Linked DNA regions of Homo sapiens: region 2 is linked to region 1. Evidence: promoter capture Hi-C in 16 types of primary human blood cells and fetal thymus (Javierre and others, 2016). All regions are on one chromosome and are shown on one strand. The core of a region is centred on a gene start or on the middle of the fragment in contact, and the rest is flanking DNA. Distances in the headings are between cores, read along the strand shown.

Evidence for each region. The method cuts DNA at HindIII sites, captures the fragments that hold promoters and counts their contacts. A CHiCAGO score of 5 or more calls a contact.
Region 2: a contact is called between a fragment that was not itself captured here and the fragment with the promoter of ADAM32 in region 1, in 1 of 17 cell types (total B cells). The highest score is 5.2, in total B cells.

What each region holds. Positions count from the first base shown.
Region 1 is chr8:39,103,740-39,110,684 of GRCh38, forward strand. ADAM32 (ADAM metallopeptidase domain 32) reads left to right here and starts at 3,995. Exons shown (of 25, transcript NM_145004.7): 1 at 3,995-4,094. The coding sequence starts at 4,037. ADAM9 (ADAM metallopeptidase domain 9) reads left to right here. Exons shown (of 22, transcript NM_003816.3): 22 at 1-1,522. The HindIII fragment of the contact is 5,845 bases long and covers 884-6,728 here.
Region 2 is chr8:38,834,100-38,840,826 of GRCh38, forward strand. It overlaps TACC1 (transforming acidic coiled-coil containing protein 1), which reads left to right. Exons shown (of 13, transcript NM_006283.3): 7 at 2,063-2,188; 8 at 4,371-4,447; 9 at 6,125-6,168. Among named protein-coding and RNA genes, the nearest start is that of TACC1, 50 kb to the left of the region's middle. RefSeq lists an enhancer at 783-1,566. The HindIII fragment of the contact is 2,426 bases long and covers 1,927-4,352 here.

The DNA.
Region 1 (6,945 bases), core at 2,745-5,244:
GAGCTAATACTTTTTTTTTTTCTTGATGTTTTCTTGAAAAGCCTTTCTGTTGCAACTATGAATGAAAACAAAACACCACAAAACAGACTTCACTAACACAGAAAAACAGAAACTGAGTGTGAGAGTTGTGAAATACAAGGAAATGCAGTAAAGCCAGGGAATTTACAATAACATTTCCGTTTCCATCATTGAATAAGTCTTATTCAGTCATCGGTGAGGTTAATGCACTAATCATGGATTTTTTGAACATGTTATTGCAGTGATTCTCAAATTAACTGTATTGGTGTAAGAGTTTTGTCATTAAGTGTTTAAGTGTTATTCTGAATTTTCTACCTTAGTTATCATTAATGTAGTTCCTCATTGAACATGTGATAATCTAATACCTGTGAAAACTGACTAATCAGCTGCCAATAATATCTAATATTTTTCATCATGCACGAATTAATAATCATCATACTCTAGAATCTTGTCTGTCACTCACTACATGAATAAGCAAATATTGTCTTCAAAAGAATGCACAAGAACCACAATTAAGATGTCATATTATTTTGAAAGTACAAAATATACTAAAAGAGTGTGTGTGTATTCACGCAGTTACTCGCTTCCATTTTTATGACCTTTCAACTATAGGTAATAACTCTTAGAGAAATTAATTTAATATTAGAATTTCTATTATGAATCATGTGAAAGCATGACATTCGTTCACAATAGCACTATTTTAAATAAATTATAAGCTTTAAGGTACGAAGTATTTAATAGATCTAATCAAATATGTTGATTCATGGCTATAATAAAGCAGGAGCAATTATAAAATCTTCAATCAATTGAACTTTTACAAAACCACTTGAGAATTTCATGAGCACTTTAAAATCTGAACTTTCAAAGCTTGCTATTAAATCATTTAGAATGTTTACATTTACTAAGGTGTGCTGGGTCATGTAAAATATTAGACACTAATATTTTCATAGAAATTAGGCTGGAGAAAGAAGGAAGAAATGGTTTTCTTAAATACCTACAAAAAAGTTACTGTGGTATCTATGAGTTATCATCTTAGCTGTGTTAAAAATGAATTTTTACTATGGCAGATATGGTATGGATCGTAAAATTTTAAGCACTAAAAATTTTTTCATAACCTTTCATAATAAAGTTTAATAATAGGTTTATTAACTGAATTTCATTAGTTTTTTAAAAGTGTTTTTGGTTTGTGTATATATACATATACAAATACAACATTTACAATAAATAAAATACTTGAAATTCTCTTTTGTGTCTCCTAGTAGCTTCCTACTCAACTATTTATAATCTCATTAATTAAAAAGTTATAATTTTAGATAAAAATTCTAGTCAAATTTTTACAGATATTATCTCACTAATTTTCAGACTTTTGCCAAAGTGTGCACAATGGCTTTTTGTTAATAAAGAACAGATTAGTTTTGAAGAAGGCAAAAATTTCAGTTTTCTGAAGACAGCATGTTATTTTAACAATCAAGTATACATATTAAAAATTGTGAGCAATCTCAAATGAAGGTCCATCGTTTCATTTTAAATCTCTAAATGAATTCATATAAGACTCAAACGTTTGTGCTGTTCACTCATGTAGCCTCAGTTTTTGCAATTGTGATGCATATCACTGAAATTTTACAGTTGGTAATGTATTAACTATGTAACTTAACACTTGGAATTAAATAGTTCTTTGGATATTTGACTAGTTAAGTTTTTAAAAAGACTATTGGATCTGAACTTCTTTTATATATTTTTTAATATGCTTTATGTTTTTTACTTACTTGGTCATGGATGCCACTTCAAAATTTGAAAATATTAAAGGACATCCTTTCTTTCTTCAAAAAGAATAAATAAGGGTAAATTATATGCAAGTTTGACATCTCTGTTTGACTCTGTATGTCAAACTGACCTTGTTCAGAGTATTGCATTCTCGCTTTCTCCTGTGTCTGTAACCATAGAGTTAAGCACAATTTGGGTTTTCTAAACTCAAATCAGATTTTATTAAATTTCATAAATGTTTACTAAAACCTACCATTTTTCAGGCACTGTATTAGGTACTGTGATATCTAAGTTCTGGATAGGATATGTTTCCCGACTTTTAGAAGTGCATCCTCTGTTATGAAGAGAGGCATACACACAAGAATAATACAAAATCAACCCTATTAAAGATACAAACCAGAAAGGTTGAGGAGTAAGAAAGAACAAAATAATACAAGAGCCAGAAATTCATTCAGAATACTTACCACTAATTGATGAGTTGAAGCATTTACTGTAATTGCTCTTCTGTTTGTTACAAAGCAAGGTGAAACTAGCTGTGGCTCAGCAGCTGCCTAAAAGCAGTGTTAGCTTAGCATTGGCTGTTCCTATTGAGATACAAGCTCAGTGTATTTTTTTGTTGCCTTGTTCCCCACCCCACCCCTCCACCTGCCCCAGATGGAGTTTTGCTCGTCACCCAGGCTGGAGGGCAATGGCACAATCTCGGCTCACTGCAACCTCCACTTCCTGGGCTCAAGCGATTCTCCTTCCTCAGCCTCCCCAAGTGCTGGGATTACAGGCGCCCACAACCATGCCCGGCTAATTTTTGTATTTTTTAGTAGAAACGGGGTTTCACCATGTTGACCAGGCTGGTTTCAAACTCCTGACCTCTGGTGATCCAACCACCTCGGCCTCCCTAAGTGCTGGGATTACAGGCGTGAGCCACCTCACCTGGCCTGTTGCCTTGTTTTTGTTCATGCTATTAATTTCAGGTGTAGATTGCCCTGTTGAAATTGCGTGCATCCATAAAAATCACATCTTCACTTTAAATGTCTTAGTTCCCCAAGTGAGATTTTTCTCTGTTCCCATGAGGCCTTTTAGTTTATGTGTTGGCCTATTATGTAGTATGAGAAATTAATCCATTCTTTGGGATTTGAAAAGAATGAAAAGCTAATGCATACAGATGGAGACCAGGTGTGAGGCTGGGAAGGAGGAGGCATTGCAGTTCCAGGGAGTAAAGCAGTGTTTAGGAAAAACCCAAAGTCAGAGCTGCTAAAACACGGGATAGGAGAAATTAAGTGGCAGGTTCCGGTCTGAGTTCAGAAAAATTACTATGCTGAGGCTAGAATTTTCTACTGGAATGTAATTACTGTAATTGTGGGCAAGAATCTCTAAATCTTTCACTACATGAAATAAGTATTTATTGCACTGAGAAGTTTCTGAACAATAGAATGACATCACATGAGTTTTAGCCAATGGCCTGCGGAGAACCAGATTGGAGGAAAAAGCCTGGTTGTGAAGTCCATTTGGGCAGCGTCAGTGGGGAAAAAAATGCAGCTGGCGCTCTTCAAAAATATGAAGAGCTGGCATTTCATATTGAAAAGCGGCTCACTTTTCCCTTCTTTGGAATGTTCACACATCTGGCTAAATAGTTTTGAAAAAATATTAGAAACAGGTTTGGCAAATATGAATATATATTTAGGTGTGTATATAGATTTTAATTCAGAAAGTATTACACATTCGCTTTTGAAAGGACCTAGGAAGCCCCGAACGGTGGCAGATGCCTGTAATCCCAGCTACTCAGGAAGTTGAGGAGGGAGGATCACTTGAACCCAGGAGTTCGAGACCAGCCTGGGCAGAATAGTGAGCACCCCCGTCCCAAAAAGAAAAAAAAGCAACTGGGAAGTGTCTGGTGCAGGAGAGCACACGCTGACTGTGAATAAGTGTGTCAGTTCTTAAGGTCCAGCAACACAAAGCGAAAAGTTAGTGGAGGACTACGAGCGCGATCTCGACAGAGGGCGCTGGGTGGTCAGTGGCTCCAGCAACCACGCGGCTGGGGTGCGCCGGGAAGGGAGCTGGATGTTTTAGCCTCGGGGCGCACGCTGCGGGCCCTTCGTGTTCCGGACGCTAAACACCGAGAGCACCCCGTCTCCGGGGCCTCCGGAGAACGCTGTCCCATGAACGTGCGGGGAGCGGCCCCCGGCGTCCGCGCGTCCCCGCGTCCCTGGCAATTCCCGACTTCCCAACGGCTTCCCGCTGGCAGCCCCGAAGCCGCACCATGTTCCGCCTCTGGTTGCTGCTGGCCGGGCTCTGCGGCCTCCTGGCGTCAAGACCCGGTGAGCCAGCCCAGACCCTGACACTAGTCCGGGCGCTCGTCACACTGCGGCCCGACTCCCTGCAAAGCCCGGGGCCCTCCCTGTCTGGGTCCCTTTGGTCCTGTCACCCTGGCAACGGGGCCTTTTCCAGGGGATTAGGCGCCCCGTCCGGATGGAGAAGCGACTCAGGGCCCAGCACCAGGGCTCACGCCTGTAATCCCAGGGCTTTGAGAGACTGAGGCGAGCTGATTGTTTGACCTCGGAGTTGGAGACCAGCTTGGGCAACACAGCAAGACCCCATCTCTACAAAAAAATTTAAAAAAATGTTCCGAGGTGGTGGTGCGCACCTGTGATCCCAGCTACCCGGGAGGCTGAGGGAGGAGGACCACGTGAGTCCAGGAGGTGGAGGCTGCAGTGAGCCAAGATCGCCCCCACTGGACTCCAGCCTGGGCGACAGAGATCCTGTCTTTTTTATAAATTAAAAAAATTATTTTTGTGTGTGACCGAGTCCCTTCTGTCGCCCAGGCTGGAGTGCAGTGGGCAACAGTAGGCAACAGAGGGAGACTCCAGATCGTAGTTCTCCAGAACTATGAGGAAAATAAATTTCTGTTGTTTAAGCCATGCAGTCTACACTATTTTGTTATGGCAGTGGGAGCTGACTAATATAGTACTTAACAGCAAAATGATTGAAAAACTGTAAAAGTTCATTAGTAAGAGAACTGCTAAATAAACTGTGGTTATCTCCAAACAATGCAAATGGACCACTGTGGAGAGGGAGGAAGTAAGACATGCCATGTACTGACTCTGGCTGACAAGATTCAGAATAGTATGTAATAAGAGAAGGAAAAAAATACGGGCATATCCAAACATTTTACTTGCATGTAAGCCTCCCTGGTGATACTGTAAATTTTTGAGAACTCTTCCTACTCTTCTTCCTATCCTGCCATAATTACCTCTGCAGCATAGCAGAGGTGTGGTCAAGGCCAGGGTGTCAGCCTGGTTAGATTAGGGTGAGTGTTCTCTTCCTGGCTTGTAAACAGCTACCTTCTCCCTGCGTACTCACAGGACCTTTTCTTTGTGTACAGGGAAAGACAGGAGGAGGAAATTCTCTGATGTCTCATCTTATAAGGGCATGAATCTCATCATGAGGGTCCCACTCTATGCCTAAAACCCTGATTACCTCCCAAAGGCCATAACCAAATACTGTCACATTGGGGGTTAGGGATTCAACATAGAATTTTGTGGGATACATTCAGTTCATAACACATACAAAATTTTAATGCAGTGGTTGTCAAAGTTTTTGGGTTCAGAACTGCCTTATACATGAACAATTTTTGAGATTCTCAAAGAGCTTTTGTTTATGTGGATTTATATCGATGTTTAACATATTAGAAATTAAAATAGAAATGTAAGAATGTGTATTTCATTCATTAAAAATAAAAGTAACGGCCAGGCGTGGTGGCTCACGCCTGTAATCCCAGCACTTTGGGAGGCTGAGGCAGGTGGATCACCTGAGTGAGGTCAGGAGTTTGAAATCAGCCTGGCCAACATGGTGAAACCCCATTGCTACTAAAATACAAAAAAATTAGCTGGGCGTGGTGGTGCGTGCCTGTAATCCCAGCTACTCGGGAAGCTGAGGCAGGAGAATCGGTTGAACCCAGGAGGCAGGAGTTGCAGTGAGCTGAGATGGCACCATCGCACTCCAGCCTGGGTGACAAGAGCAAAACTCCATCTCAAAAAATAAAATAAAAAAAAAATATTAATGAACATTATTTTTTAGAGTACGTTTAGGTTCATAGCAAAATTGAGCTGAAAGAGTTCCCATATAGCCCCTGATCCCAAATATGAACAGCTTCTCCCACTATCAACATCTGGCACCATGGGATCCATTTGTTACAATTGAGCCTACACTGACACATTGTTATCATCCAAAGTCCACAGTTTGTTTGCATTAGGGTTCATTCTCCACATTGCCCATTCTATGGTTTTGACAAATGTACAATGACATGCATCCACCATTGTAGTATTATACAGAATAGTTTCACTGCCCTACAAATCCCATGTGTTCTGCTTATTTATCCCTCCCTCCCCACTGCCCCTGGCAACAACTCATCTCCTTAGTCTTCTTAGTTTTGCCTTTTCCAGAGTGTCATGTATTTGAAATCATATGTAGCCATTTTGGATGGACTTTTTTTTTACTTAATAATATGCATTTAAGGTTCTCCCATGCCTTTTCATGGCTTGATAGCTTATTTACTTACTTAATTGTTTTTTTGAGATGGTGTCTTACTCTGTCGCCCAGGCTGGAGTGCAGTGGCAGGATCTTGGCTCACTGCAAACTCCGCCTCCCGGTTCAAGCAATTTTCCTGCCTCAGCCTCCCAAATAGCTGGGATTACAGGTGCCTGCTACCATGCCCAGCTAATTTTTTTGTATTTTTAGTAGAGATGGGGTTTCACTGTGTTGACCAGGCTGGTTTCGAACTCCTGACTTCAAGTGATCCACCCACCTTGGCCTCCCAAAGTGCTAGGATTACAGGCATGAGCCGCTGCACCCGGCCGCTTTTTTATTTTTAGTGCTGAATAATATTCAATTGTCTGGATCTACCACAGTTTATTTATCCATTTACCTACCAAATGACATCTTGGTTGCTTCTAAGCTTTGGCAGTTATGAATAAAGCTGCTATAAACATCTATGTGCAGGTTTTTGTGTGGACATAAGTTTTCAACTCATTTGGGTAAATACCAAGAAATGCTATTGCTGAATCATATGATAAGAGTATATTTAGTTTTTAAAGAAACTGCCAAGCTGTCTTCCAAAGTGGCTGTACCATTTGCATTCACCCCAGCAATGAATGAGAACTTCTTTTATTA
Region 2 (6,727 bases), core at 1,890-4,389, 270 kb before region 1:
GCGTCAGGAATCTTGGGCAGCTTTGCTGGGTGCCTCTGACTCAGAATCTGTTACAGGCTGTGCAATCCAGGTGTTGATCAGGGCTGCAGTCATATCCAGGCTTGACTTGGGGAGGATCTGCTTCCAAGCTCACTCATGTGGTTGTTGGCAAGTCTCGGGTCCCCACTGGCTATTGGCAGAGACATCGGCTCCTTGCCACGTGGGCCTTTCCCTGTAGCTTCTCAAAACATGGAAGTCAGAGTTTGTTCAGAACCTAACCTCAGAAGTGACATCCATGACGTTTGCCATATTCTAATGAGTCACTAGGTCCAGCCTACACTCAAAGGGAAGAGATTACAGAGGGAGGGGATTAGTACTGGAGGTAGGGGTTACTGGGGGGCATTTTAGAGGCTGCCCACTGCAAGTGCCTTCTGGTTCTAGTGGTAGATTTTTCCCAAGAGAGAAAAGAGAGGTTTTGTGGGTACCTTGGACTTCTGTTGGCATGGTGGGCTGCCCTCCCCCAAATGCTGCTGGAACATGGGCACTGCCAGCTTGTGGCTTTTGTATTTTGCTTTTCTGTGGCCTGAGACAGGTTTCTATTTTGGGCCCATGGCTGAGGTCTGTGAAGCTGCATGCTAAAATTCTGTTTCTGAGCATTTTCTAGAGAGAGGGTAAAACTATAATGACTCTGAAAAATTTAAAAGCCACTCATCTACGTTCACCTTGGACTTTCTGTTTAGTGTTGATTCACACAAGATGTAACTGATTGATTATAATCAGTAACTAATTGATTAGTTATCCCACATTTAAGATTAAGATTATTCCAGGTCACTTTGGCATTTTGGATGTTCCCAAAGTATTAGATGACTCATTTATATAAAAAGTTTACTTCTGGCCAGGCGCGGTGGCTCACGCCTGTAATCCCAGCACTTTGGGAGGCCGAGGCAGGCAGATTGCAAGGTCAGGAGATTGAGACCATCCTGGCTAACACGGTGAAACCCCGTCTCTACTAAAAATACAGAAAAATTAGCCGGGCGTGGTGGCGGGCACCTGTAGTCCCAGCTACTCGGGAGGCTGAGGCAGGAGAATGGCGTGAACCCGGGAGGCGGAGCTTGCAGCGAGCCGAGATTGCGCCACTGCACTCTAGCCTGGGCCACAGAGTGAGACCCCGTCTCAAAAAAAAAAAAAAAAGTTTACTTCCGTAGGTAGGAGGAATAGCCAGCAAAAACGTCTTTTAGGAAGGAAAATAGTACAAAGTCCATGTTCTCATGAAAAGAAAAGTTTGCCAGTGTTTTGCTCTGGAACCTGAGCTTATGAAAGAAGCTCCTCAGAGCTTCTGAGCCAGCACCTCAGAGGGCGAAGTGCTGCCAGAAGGGAGTGGAAAACTTAGTAGCAAGGAAGAACCAACACACAGGCATGGTCCTTGACTTATGTATGGCCATTTTGCATATGGGCAACAATGGCACACACCCAGCAGGCTGGGTTACAGCAGGAGGTCGCTGCGGAGCAGCGGAAGTTCAGGATGATCCTGAATCATCCGGGTGAAAGGGTGGGGGTGAGAGTTCAGAGTTCAAATATATTTGCTATTTCTGCCTTCTTAGGCCTGAAAGTTAGTATTTTAGAAACATTTCCATCTGCAGTGGCTAAAGATACATACAAAGCATCAATATGTAACAGGAGCAGCTGTCACTTGTTTTTGTTTTTGCTTTTTTAAAAAAGAAATTCCCATTTACATGGAGCTTATCCCCAGAAACTTAATCATGGGTGTGTTTCTCTTTTATCCATGTGGTTCTTTGGTGACTGACCGCTATTATAAGTACACTTTCTCCCTTTTAGATCAGAATAAAATTCTCTAGGTTATCTGCTCAACAGAAGCTAAGACCACTCTGATAGTCATTATAACAGTTTTTCTTTAGTTACTTCCATAATTAGATTTGTTTTTTAAAAAGCTTCCCCCCGCTGACTTTTCTTTAAACATGGTTTTAAAGGATGTGATCAATTTAGTAATGAGGAAGTTGTTGAAGGATGTCTGGGGTTAAGAAGCTGAAAGCTGACAGATTCAGTGTAATCCCTTTCCCCACAGGGGCTGCTGGAGTCCTCTGCAGAGAAGGCCCCTGTGTCGGTGTCCTGTGGAGGTGAGAGCCCCCTGGATGGGATCTGCCTCAGCGAATCAGACAAGACAGCCGTGCTCACCTTAATAAGAGAAGAGGTAAAAGCTCTCCTGTTTAGTCTGCTTATCACTCCATTTCTTTGTAAGGCCCATGTACCAGCAGGTAGATTGCATCTCTGCTGGCTCAAGTTATCACAGGCTGGAAGTTCTTATTACCTGCAGCTTGTTTAGGTCGTAAAAGGGCCCCCTGTGGCAGTGGTGCTGGAGTCCTGACATTCTGGTCTCCAGGGTAAAATGTTGACAATCTGAAATATTCTTAAGAATTTTGTACCCTTCTTTATCTTTCAGCCCTGACATTTAAAATACCTAATTTTGCCAGCTTTGCTCCCATGTGTAACTAAATCAGTGCTTTTATTTTACAGAGGATATATGCTAATGCCTAAAAACATTTGTAATTTTTTTGCAGTAATACACAGTTGTTTCCTACTTTCATCCATTCTTTAAACCGTTCAACTCTCCGATTCCTGTATTGTGTTTCTTGAACAGCCTTTGTTCAAAATAGATCACTGCTAGGCCTTTCCTGGTTATCTGAAAAATACGAAAGACACTGTTGTGTACCATTAATAAGTTGCCCACCCTCTCCTGTCATATATCTATGCTGTATTTTGTGTGTTTGTTTTGTGTGTTTCTTGACAATTCCACCTGTTCTTAAAGGAAGGTGTGGCAATTTTATTTTTATAGTTTTTAGTTTTATAGTTTTTTTTAGTTTTAATTTTTATAGTATGCTGAAAGTGGTTAAGCACCTCAGCTGTAGGTCTTTTACAGCTTTCTAAAATAGCATCAAGTTGGTAATGAGGGATGTCAGCTAGTCCTGTTTTCAAAACTTGGGAGCAGTGGTAATAAGGCCCACCAAAATCTTTTTTTTTTTTTTTTTTTGAGATAAAATCTTGGCGCAGTAGCTCATGCCTGTAATCCCAGTGCTTTGGGAGGCCAAGGCGGGCGGATCACCTGAGTTCAGGAATTCGAGACCAGACTGACCAACGTGGAGAAACCCCATCTCTACTAAAAAAAAAAAAAATACAAAATTAGCTGGGCGTGGTGGTGCATGCCTGTAATCCCAGCTACTTGGGAGGCTGAGGTGGGAGAATCGCTTGAACCTGGGAGACGAAGGTTGTGGTGAGCCGAGATCGCACCATTGCACTCCAACCTGGGCAACAAGAGCGAAACTCCATCTCAGAAAAATAAAAATAAAATAAAAGACAAGATCTCACTCTGTCACCCAGGCTGAGTGCAGTGGCACAATTATAGCTCATTGCAGCCTCGAACTCCTAGGGTCAAGCGATCCTCTTGCCTCAGCTGCCTGAGTAGCTGGGACTGCAAGCACGCACCACTGTCCCTGGCCAAAATCTTGTAAATGAGAAAAATGACTTGATGTTTTTCCTGGGAGTTAAACTATGAGATCACCACCTAATGGATCAAAGTAAAGAGGTGCCTGATTACCTGAAGCACACAGGATACATCCTTCTATGTTCTTGAGATCCTAATAAATATAATGAAACTACCAATTAGGAAGAGAGCGGCACGGCCAGGGAAGTACAGTAAGAGGCTGCCCATGCAAGCCCAGCCCAGGGCAAATAGAGTTTGAGGCAATGAATTTAGAGTATTTCCTTCCAGTTAGCAAGAGCATCCCAAATATGAGCCTAGGTTCCAGGCTAACTAGCAAGACTCTACCCATAAGTGACGGATGCTATAGCTAGATGTAGCCAGCTCATCTGAGCCCCCTCCTTCTGACTCCATTTCTATGAAGCTGTCAGAAATCTCTATAGAAAGAGAATGTGTTGCTCATGCCAACTTCCAGTGGTCTGACTTTGTGGCAGTTTCACTCTGGTGGCCTGGCATCAGCCGTGATTACATGGCCTTAGTTAAGAGTGAATACCTGCCAATCAGATGGCTCTGTTCTTGGTGTCTGTCCCAGTCAGGGCCTGGCCCTGCAGAGCTGAGAGCTAGACCCTGGACCAAGGTAAAGTTCACAGAGGCTGTAAATACTACTTGGGATTTCTGAGAGATGTTCTACTCATCTTTATTCCCGTGTCTGCATCCCAGCATTCAGTGTGGCTTAGAATACACTTTTCCAAATGGTTACAAACATTTAATATTGAAGTTTATATTTCTAATATAGATTGAACATCTTGGGTTAGACCTGGTTGTGTGCTATTTCAGTTCCCAGTCTTAAATGCAAATTGTAATAGATTGGGTAAAACTAAGCTTTATTGTACTCTAGATAATTACTAAAGAGATTGAAGCAAATGAATGGAAGAAGAAATACGAAGAGACCCGGCAAGAAGTTTTGGAGATGAGGTTAGACTGGAGGTTTTGGGGAGGGGCTGGATACTTTTATGCACTGTTAGATTTGATACAGATGAAGTGATGACAGTGTTTGCTTGCCACAGAACCAAGTGTTGAGAGCTTGAGGGCTTTGCTGTTTGCACCTTGCTTTGTGATTGAGAATGTTATTTCAGGAGTTATTGCTAACCAGTTATTATATTCAAATACTGTAGTTTATCTTGGGTTGTTCAGAACATATAACATGTAAACAGAACCCACATAATTCTTATCTTCTTAGAACTGACAGAAATTTGTATCAAAATATCCATTTGGAATACAGAAAAATAAGATTTATCCAATGATAGAGACACTGAAATTCATAATACTACTTTTTTTTTTTTGAGGCAGGGTCTCACTCTGTCATCCAGGCTGGAGTGCAGTGGTGTGATCATGGCTCACTGCAGCCTCAACCTCCTGGGATCAACTGATCCTCTCCCCTCTGCCTCCCAAGTAGCTGGGACCACAGGCATGTGCCACCATGCCTGCATAATTTTTTTTAGAGATGAGGTCTCGCTCTGTTGCCCAGGCTGGTTTGTAACTCCTGAGCTCAAGCAATGCACCTGCCTCAGCCTCCCAAAGTGCTGGGATTGCAGGCATGAGCCACAGCGCCTGGTCCATAATACTTTTTAAAAATTAATTATGCATGAGAGTTTCAAATTACATAACCACCAAATAGATGATAGAAAGCTTGTTAACAAGAAACAAAATTGATTGACTTGAAATCGAAATCTTTTTATTTTTCCTCACTTTTAGAAAGGAGAGTTATGAGCCATGAAATGACTAAAGATGAAATCAAAGTAGAGAAGAAAAAAAGGCATAAATAATTCACACACAGTGTGGTCAACACTTGAATGATTAAAAAACATTTTAAGTATATCCCTCTAATTTGTTGCTCTTTTATTATTTGTCTTTTAAGCATTTCCTAGGTGTAAGGCCCTTTGCTGGGCTTGATGGAAAGGAAGGGACATTCCTGCTCTTAGAGAGCGGTAGCCATCCATAATAACCAACTTGGATATGACGTCAAAAGTGATGGGGGCACCACCATTGAGGGCAGGGGAGGACGTGATGCGACTCACAGAGCACCCAGCACCGGACTGGGTCAGAAGGACATTGTCATTCTTCACTAGAAGAAAGGTTAACCCAAGAGGTTGATCTTTAAAGTCTTTGAATAAGTGAAATACTTTTGGAATTAGGACACAAAATAAAACTTGTCACTGAATCAGAGGTAGAGTGTCTGAAAGGGTGGATTGACTCAGGAAAGTCTAAAGTCAGATCGCATCTGTTAGGAAGAGCCCAGAAGAATATCTTTAACTTAGTTTGTAAAAGATTGACTCATCTAAGCAGAATGAATCTATTTCCTTGCAGTATTCAAATAGGTGCAAAGAGAAAGGGAAGGCAGTTGGTTCTATAAGTAAAATATAAGTTTGACTAAAGATAAAATCTTAACAAAAACCTTTTTAGAACCTTAAGAAACCTTATATAATGTAAAAAAAAAAAAAAAAAAAAGATAACGAGAGCCCCAAAGCAGATAAATGGATTACATACATTGTCAGTGTATGTTAATGTGTTTAATTGTTTGGGACAGCATTTCTCCAACTTTCATTGTCTGAAAATCCTCCTCTGGTAATAAGTTCTTTTTTTCTCATTTAGGAAAATTGTAGCTGAATATGAAAAGACTATTGCTCAAATGATTGGTAAGGAGAACATTTTGTTTTTTGAGGGTATGAGCCATAGGATCTGTCTTAGTCTGTTCAGCCTGGTATAACAAAATATGTAAGCTAGGTAGCTTATAAACAACAAACATTTTTCATAGCTCTGGAGACAGGAGAGTTCAAGGTGCCCACAGATGAGATGTCTGGGGAGGGCCCATTCCTCATAGAAGGGGCTGGCTAGCTCTCTGGGGTCTCTTTTATAAGGACACTAATCCTGACATAATCACCTCCCAAATTCCCTTCCATGCCCACTTTCACCCTGAACATACTCACACACTGGGGATTAGGTTTCAATACACAAATTTGGGGTTGGGGGGTGGCATAAACTATAAGACCATAGCCGGATCCATTTATGATTTTCAGACCATGTCACAAACTTGTATTTGTCTGTCACTTAGATACAGTCGTCTCATTATTCGTGGGAGGTATGTTCTGTAAAGTTGCTGCAAACACTGAGTTAGTGAATACTAAACACTGCTCCTGGCCTGGCATGGTGTCTCACGCCTGTAATCCCAGCACTTTGGGAGGCTTGGGTAGGTGG